2 separate regions of the Homo sapiens genome follow, and region 2 is linked to region 1. The links are contacts of gene promoters, found by promoter capture Hi-C in human tissues and cell types (Jung and others, 2019). All regions are on one chromosome and are shown on one strand. Each heading gives the region's core, a stretch centred on a gene start or on the middle of the fragment in contact. The rest is flanking DNA. Distances are from core to core; before and after follow the strand shown.

Region 1 (3,985 bases), core at 288-2,787:
ATGCACTTGGAATTCAGAATTGTCTTTTGTGGCTTTCCCCCATCCAATTTATATTACAGTTGACACTTGAACAACGCAGGGGGTTAGGGTGAAATTGAAAATCCATGGACCTGTCCAAAGTTAAACTACTAACAGCCTACCGTAACAGTATAACGTAACACTAACAGACTACTGTTTATGTTGTCTGTAAGGCTTACTACTGGAAGCCATACCTTACTGCTGGAAGCCTTACTGGTAACACAAACATTTGATTAACAACATAAACGGTCCTTTTTCTATGGTTTAGCGCTTTAGGCTAGGGCTCTGGGTTGCCCAATTTCTTTCATTCAGTCTCTATGGAATTAGCATTGTCCAGATCCCTCAATGATGCCCTTCCTCACATTCTCACTTCACCCTCACCCAACCTCTTGGTGATAAATTTCAACTCCTGAGCTTATGTTTCCCTTTTATAAGAATCCTTTTCATTCGGGCTTCTTCCAAAAGGGTTGACCTTTGGCTAGAGGTACCTTTACTATTAAGATTTGACTCGAAGATGTGTAACAAACTGTGAACACTAAGACCCTCAAAGAGATGGGACTGGAGGAGAACAAGAGATTGCTTACTTCTGATACATACACCCTACTAGCTAAGAAACAAACAAGAAAGGAGAAGCAGCAGCTTCTTCCACTGCACTCCCAAAGGAATTAGATGGATTTGTGGAAGTCCGTTTCCATCCCCCATCATCACCCTTCCTAGCTCCCTCTGGAGTCCGTCCTCACCTGGAGTTCTTCAATCTTGGACAGATAATATTGGCGGAGTCCGCTGCCTGCCTTCCCCTCCTCCAGCTCCATCTGAAGACACAGAGTGAGTCTTAAACGACAGGTTAAACATCCGAGGGGGTAAAGCCACTTGCAGGGCACTTTGAATAAGGCTTGACACCAGGTAGCTTTGCGTAGTAGAAAAAGTTTGGACTTCGGAGGCTCAGGATCTGGGTTCTAATCCCTCCCTCCCTTGGAACCCTCCATTTTCCCAGGACTAAAATAAAAGAATGGGAACGCCGCCTACCTCATACGACTTTTAGGAGGACCGAGAGGCGATATGATATAGACGGGGGGCGCTTTGCACTGCGTGAAGTGCTCTACAAGCCCGAGGTGTCAGTACTGACGAAGGAGCCAGCGGAACGGAGCCAAAGGACTGGCGTCCCGTCTCCTGCGACCCGTGGGCCGGCCATTCCCGCGCCCATCGCTTCCCTCACTCACTCCGCTTCTACCGCGTCTTCCTCTCCCAGCCTTGCCCTGACTCACCGAGGGCGGCGCTGACACAGCAGATCCGGTCGCAGGCAGCGTCCAGCATGGACTGGTCCAGGCACCTCCGACCCACCCGACGCTCCTGCCCCGGCCCGCTCTCCACTCAGATCACGCTCGCTCCGCACCCAGCCCCGTAACCTGCCGGGCCGCCACTGCACCCGCCATACCTGCTCTGGTCCGTCAAGCGCCATCTTCTCTCTTCAGCAGAGACCGCCGGCATCCGAGCCGTCTTGGCGCGCAAGCGCGGAAGCGGAGGATTGGGACCTGAAGACCAGGCAGAGAAGAATTCCGGGTCAATGGGCGGGGTGTGCGGCGAGACCACACTAAGGGAACCATGATGGGAGGGGCGGCTACTCGAGTTCAGGGGCTTTGGAAGGGGATGAGGAAGGAGTAGAACTCCTCCTCAGTGTTGCCTCATTGAAACTCTGTTTATAGTTCTTGTGATATGCCTTCCTAGTCTCAACTTTCAACTTACAAAACCCAAGGACAGAGTATTGAGAACAATCTAGGGCCACACTCAAAATGGCGGAAAACCTCGAGCCAGGGACGCAGGGGACGCAAGCGGAAGCGGAAGTAGTTAGCTGCATACTTGTGCGGTTCCAAGTGTGGAGAAAGCGGCTCTGGGTCTAGGTAGTGTGCGGAGAGGGGCGCGGGGTGGAATTGCTGCGGGAAGTGGGAAACTGGAAGTGGGAAACTGGAAGTGGAATCTGGTGCTCCGGAAAGAGACGTTCCCAACTTCTACTTTCTCCCCAGATTGAGGGATACTCCCCCTTTCCACCATGGGCAAGAAGGGCAAAGTTGGCAAGAGCCGACGAGACAAGTTTTATCACTTGGCGAAGGAGACGGGTGAGTCCGGATTCGCTCAGTCTGCGAGCGAGCGAGCGATCTCTGCCCGGTTCGCCTGCTCTTTGCGACCATTATGTACCTCTCCTGCAGAAGGGGTGGTCGGTTGCGAGGCCGGAGAAATCCTACTAGTGAAGCAGTTTGCGCACTTGGTTGTTTTGTCCAGGTTACCGTTCCCGATCTGCTTTCAAGCTGATCCAGCTCAATCGCCGCTTTCAGTTCCTGCAGAAAGCCCGAGCCTTGCTGGACCTGTGTGCTGCGCCAGGGGGATGGTTCGTAACACTCGCCACAGGTTGCTCCTGGTGGCCGCTTTCTGGGTTCTGAGCTGGGATGGCTTCCAGTTTCACTGCGGGAGGGGAACCCGAATCCCGGTCCTCTTGGGGGCCGTTTCCTTTCTTGATTGCAGAGAAAGGGCTTGGAATACGTGCCTATGATATGCTTTGGCCAGTACACGTAACACCAGGGATGAGAGATCAGTTGCCAAGAGGGGGAAAAGGATGGCTCTAGGTTTTTAAATTTCTGTTCCTTTTATAGGCTGCAGGTAGCTGCCAAGTTTATGCCTGTATCCAGCCTTATTGTGGGTGAGTAACGGACAGCTCTCCTTGGTGTTTTAAGGGGTGGGTGTATAAGGTATTTTGTCCTGTATTTCTCTCCTCCCTGCTTGAAGCAACCTTTTAGAATACTCTGACCTGATTTCTTCCAGGAGTGGACCTGGTTCCAATCAAGCCTCTCCCCAATGTGGTGACTCTCCAGCAGGACATCACAACAGAACGTTGTAGGCAGGTAATAGGAGTCTCTCTCTTCCTTCCCCCTTTATACGGAAACATCTACATCCCTGAAATCCTCTAAAGGCAAGTTTTTCCTTTTTACCGTGCTTTGAGCACGTTCTTGCCTGACATCTGTACGACAAGACCTATGGCATTCGTAGTGTCCACTCCAGGCTTTATTTAGAGTCAGGGATAAAGGTGTTTGGAATTGGGAGAAGGGCAGAGATCTTTAGTGAAGTCTTCTCCTGTGAATTCAGTGTCAGACTGTAATCTCCATGAAGGTAGAGACATACTGTTTTTGTTTACTATTGTATCTCCTGTGCCTGGTACTGCATTTGGCCCATGATGGGCACTCAGCAAATGACTAGATGGACAAATGGCTGAACCAGGGCCATTCCAGTGTTTCTGTTTCCATAGTTCCTTTTCTTCTCTTTAGGCCCTGAGGAAGGAGCTGAAGACCTGGAAGGTTGATGTTGTGCTCAATGATGGGGCCCCCAACGTTGGGGCTAGCTGGGTCCATGATGCTTACTCACAAGGTACAGGGAGTGTGGTGCTTGGAGATCAGGTGATGGTGGAGGTGGGCGCATGCCCTCCTGGGCTGCAGAGTGCGTCAACTAATTGTCTCTATCCTACAGCCCATTTGACACTGATGGCTCTACGTTTGGCTTGTGACTTTTTGGCCCGTGGTGGCAGCTTCATCACAAAGGTTTTCCGTTCTCGTGACTATCAGCCTCTGCTATGGATCTTTCAGCAGCTGTTCCGCCGTGTCCAGGCCACCAAGCCCCAAGCCTCTCGCCATGAATCTGCAGAGATCTTTGTAGTCTGCCAAGGTGGGCATCATTTCCTTTCTCTTGATCCAGGCTCCCAACTCCCAAAGCACACTTTTTAATATATCCTGTCATTTTTAGGATTCCTGGCCCCTGACAAGGTTGACAGTAAATTCTTTGACCCCAAATTTGCCTTTAAGGAGGTTGAAGTTCAGGCTAAGACCGTTACTGAATTGGTTACTAAGAAGAAGCCAAAGGTGTGTTTTGGGGAATGGGGTCACTCTTGGGTCCTGGAACTCTAGGGAGGTTGGGCCTGGTGGGT
Region 2 (4,458 bases), core at 132-2,631, 1.2 Mb after region 1:
ATCCCCATGAATGGAAACGCAATTAACAGACCTTACTAGCAGGGTTATAGCATTTTCATATTTTATAATGTCACAACACTGAAGTGTACTACTTTTTAGTTTAATACTGAATTTTTAAAGCACTCATCAATGTCCGTTATGTGCTTGATGTAAGTCTCCTTTTAGTTCAAAGCAGTTAATGACATTTTGTCAATTCGCCATTTTCTATAGCCTGAAATGCATGAGTATGATTTTATATCACTTAGAAAGCCAATTCTTTCAAAAGAAAGGTGGAGGTACTTAAGAATTGTCTCCTCAGTGCTGCTTCCTGATTGGAAAACAAAACAAAACAAAAAAAAGAACTCCCCCCAGCTGCCCAAGCAAGAATGAAGGTCACAACAACTCACACACCCTCTCCCCAAGGTGTCTGCCAAATAGGAAATGCCCCCTCCTCAGATGAGCTCAGGCACCATGATCCCTCCTCTGATGAGGAAACAGAGTAGAAAGGCACCAATGCCAGCCTGGAACTTGAATGGAAAGAACTTAGACAAATAGGACCATCCCCTTCACGTGCTCTCTGATTCTGTCTGGTAGAGACATATGTGAGAAAACACCCAATCCATACCCACCAGGCCTCAGAGTGCTTGCCAACTGTTTGAAGGAGGGACAAGGCCCGGCTTCCACTCCTCAGTGTTTCAAAAGGCTAGATGGGCAGAACGCCCACCTGCAGTTGCTGTGGTATCCAACACTAGAGCTCTCTGCAAGGTCAGCCAGAAACCTGGATACTGAGACTAGGCAAAATACATATACGTCTCAGCACAGGAGACGTATATGTATAAAAATATGTATATGTATAGATGTATACGTATATTTTATACATATACAGATGTATACGTATATTTTATACATATACAGATGTATACGTATATTTTATACATATACAGATGTATACGTATATTTTATACATATACAGATGTATACGTATATTTTATACATATACAGATGTATACGTATATTTTATACATATACAGATGTATACGTATATTTTATACATATACATCTGTATATGTATAAAAATGCCCTACAGGGCATTTTTAAAGAGAAGCATGTACTGGTCCAACACCCTTAGGCATTCTTAGGGTCTCAATACAGTAGTGGCATTGCTCACTTATAACTGGTCAGAACAACATGTGCTTTCCTTCTCTGAAGTGCTCCTGGCACTCACTACGGTGTGCCACTCATCCCTACATATCAAGTGACTGGAATGTTCTTATAATAATGTAACTGCTCCTCAGGAGCATCTGGACTGCAGCTGCCTGTCACCTAAGAAACACACGCAGGGTGCCACAGGTCATCCCTTCTCCCTCTGCTAAGCCCTGTTGCTCTTAATGTAGCAGGAACCTTCCCTTCTCCAGTGCTGAGCACCACTGCCCATCTGTCTGGAACAGGAAGAACTTCTGGGTCCCTGATGAACAAGAGGTATAGAGCAAGAGTTGCCTTGGACCAGGCTAGAAGCCAACTAAAGGGCTACTTCAAAGACCACTGTTTTTCCCCTTCCAAATTATTATTTATAAAACAAACAAACAAACAAACAAAACACCAAAAAAAACCAAGACTGCCTTTATAGAAAGGAGGTGTTTGCTTTGTCAAAAAAGCCTGTCCCCTCCTTTCAAGGGCAGGACTTGTCTGATTCAATACTTGTACCAACAACAAGGAAACAAAACTAAGCCCAGTGGGGAACCTAATAGCAAATTAAGTCTGCATAGCCTCTAAAGCAAATGAGCCATGAACTCCAACGTTCAGAAGCTTGGGGAGATATAGGCAAAACCTGACATCAGTGGAACAAAGCAATTCACAGCTGTGCATATTGTAACAATTCATTTTAAAGAAGCCCCCCCTCTCTACCCCACATCCCAAGTACAGATGAAGGCTGCCACTAGTACTATTCTATAGAGAAGCAAGCACAGAAGTGGGACCCTGAAGACCAAGAACTTTGAGATGGGCAAACTGTGACCGGGAGGAGAACATAGCACAGAGAGGCTGAACAAGTCAAACAGGTGCCACCAAGACACACCAGGTGCCCCCAGTCTCTTCTAGAAGGAAATGACTGAAGTAGCAGAAACAGCCCACCAGCAGCTCCCTAGGGTCTAGTTTCTATAGACAAGCAACAATTTTTTTTTTTTTTGAGATGCAGTCTCGCACTCGCACCATCACCCAGGCTGGAGTGCAGTGACGTGATCTCGGCTCACTGCAAGCTCTGCCTCCCGAGTTCACGCCATTCTCCTACCTCAGCCTCCCGAGTAGCTGGGACTACAGATGCCTGCCACCACGCCCAACTAATTTTTTGTATTTTTAGTAGAGACGGGGTTTCACCGTGTTAGCCAGGATGGTCTCGATCTCCTGACTTCGTGATCTGCCTGCCTCAGCCTCCCAAAGTGCTGGGATTACAGGTGTGAGCCACCGTGCCCGGCCAGCAAAAATGATTTCTAAGGCTTTATTTACTATAGCTATTTCTAGCCACAAAGGAAGGGAAGGTTAAGAGTACCTAGGGCTTTGGATTCAGGAAAGTCTGGATTTAAATACCAGCTCAGCCACTTCCTGTTACTCCAATTCTGTAAGCATCAGTTTCCTCGTCGTAACACTGAGAATGTATTTATTCTCTCAGGGCAGTTATGAAGATTACATAAAACAAAACCAACAACAATGCACGTAAAGCTTGTAGCATAATGCTCAAACTACAGGTATTATTTAATTTTAAAAAGTCAGACACTCAAGTATCACTTACTTGTGGTAATTCTCCTTTTTCTCATCTCTCCAGTTTTTATTTAACTGGTGAATTTTCACAGCTACGTATCTTTGCTCTGTTAGATCAAATGCCTATAAAGAGAATAAATTATATACTGGGTAAATGTTAAGAAAAATTACAGGTAACTGATGTGAAGCTTTAATTTAACATATAACATAATCAAAGTCCAAAATACATTATTAAATACATCACATACTTATATCAGTGTTGCAAGCACCTTCTTGAAACTTGTGATTAGATAATTTAGAAGTCTCCAGACACACTGGCACCAAGGGATTTAGAACATAAAACCAGGCCAACACCACAAACAGAAAGATAGCCCCTGCCTTCAGAATCATTTCCCAACCATTCTCTTTCTGGACACCATCTATTCCTGTCTGGGACCCGTCTGCCTTAGGTTGTCTCTTATCCTTCAGTTGACACTGGGACTTTACAAGCTTCAAACATCCTGTCACTTTTGAAATTCCAGGGACACACACTGCCTGCCTCCTGGAGAAAATAACCCCTCACAATATACTTCTTTGGTATGATTGTTTACAAAACCACCCTGTAATTTGGCATATTGTTTATTAAAATAAAAAGAGAAACAAGAACAAAAAACAGCCCTGCCTTTAGTCCCATCTCTATATGCTGGGTAAATGAAAAGTGGTTTTGTTGTTGTTGTTTTTGAGACGGAGTCTCGCTCTGTCGCCCAGGCTGGAGTGCAACGGTGCAATCTTGGCTCACTGCAACCTCTGTCTCTCGGGTTCAAGTGATTCTCCTGCCTCAGCTTCCTGAGTAGCTGGGATTACAGGCACGCACCATCACGCCCGGCTAATTTTTGTATTTTTAGTAGAGATGGGGTTTCACCATGTTGGTCAGGCTGGTCTCCTGACCTCAGGCGATCCGCCCCGCTTCGGCCTCCCAAAGTGCTGGGATTACAGGCGTGAGCCACTGCGCCTGGCCGAAAAGCAGTTTCTAATCCCAAAAATGGCTGAAGTTAGTCACCCCAAGTCACTTCTCCAGCACTGTCCAGAGGCAGGAACCAGCTTTCCCCAATGGCCACCACTGCCAGCAAGTCCTGCATCAGCTATGTAGTGCTTGCTATAGCACAGTGAAAAAGGTAACATGGATTTTTGAGGAAGCTGGGTGTAAATCATAATTTGATAAAGTAATCTTTCAATTCAATTGAAGATTTCCCTCCAAACAAAAGAATTTATTGCATAGCTTCTTTAGAATAGTTTTTCTTAGTTTGTAAAGTTTAGATTAAAAGCTTACTACTTCAGTTTCAACACTGTTATCACCCATCTGCTAATTTCCACAAATATACAAATAAATGAAGGCAACAAGTGCAGAAAACAGTACCTAAATAGGGTGATCACTACTTTACAGATCTATCTAAACCTAAGTTTCTCTGGATAAGCACTGCATGTAGAGAGAGCTGCTTATAAAATAGAGAAACTTCCATCATTTATACCAAATTAAAACCAGTATGTTTAAAGTATAAAAACCACTCACTTCAGACATAATATCTTATTTCACAAAAATTGCAACATTTTTTATTTTTATTTTTTTATCTAGACAGGGCTTCAATGTGTTTGCCAGGCTGTTTTTGAACTCCTGGCCTCAAGTAATCTTCCCACCTTGGCCTCTCAAAATATTGGGTTAGAGGCAGTAGAGGCCATGCCCGGCCA

The links. Contacts are between HindIII fragments. The study calls those that stand out against the background at their distance.
Region 2: a fragment that was not itself captured here is called in contact with the fragment with the promoter of PSMC5 in region 1 in 1 of the 25 tissues and cell types used here (spleen).

The regions. Positions count from the first base shown.
Region 1 is chr17:63,824,983-63,828,967 of GRCh38, reverse strand. PSMC5 (proteasome 26S subunit, ATPase 5) reads right to left here and starts at 1,537. Exons shown (of 12, transcript NM_002805.6): 1 at 1,454-1,537; 2 at 759-830. The coding sequence starts at 1,477. It overlaps FTSJ3 (FtsJ RNA 2'-O-methyltransferase 3), which reads left to right and starts at 1,305. Exons shown (of 21, transcript NM_017647.4): 1 at 1,305-1,916; 2 at 2,040-2,132; 3 at 2,296-2,401; 4 at 2,664-2,710; 5 at 2,833-2,912; 6 at 3,333-3,432; 7 at 3,532-3,726; 8 at 3,805-3,920. The coding sequence starts at 2,066. RefSeq lists enhancers at 1,147-1,196, 1,577-1,856, 993-2,192. The HindIII fragment of the contact is 12,724 bases long and covers 1-3,985 here.
Region 2 is chr17:62,584,533-62,588,990 of GRCh38, reverse strand. It overlaps TLK2 (tousled like kinase 2), which reads right to left. Exons shown (of 22, transcript NM_006852.6): 16 at 2,765-2,856. Among named protein-coding and RNA genes, the nearest start is that of MRC2, 41 kb to the left of the region's middle. The HindIII fragment of the contact is 4,499 bases long and covers 1-3,630 here.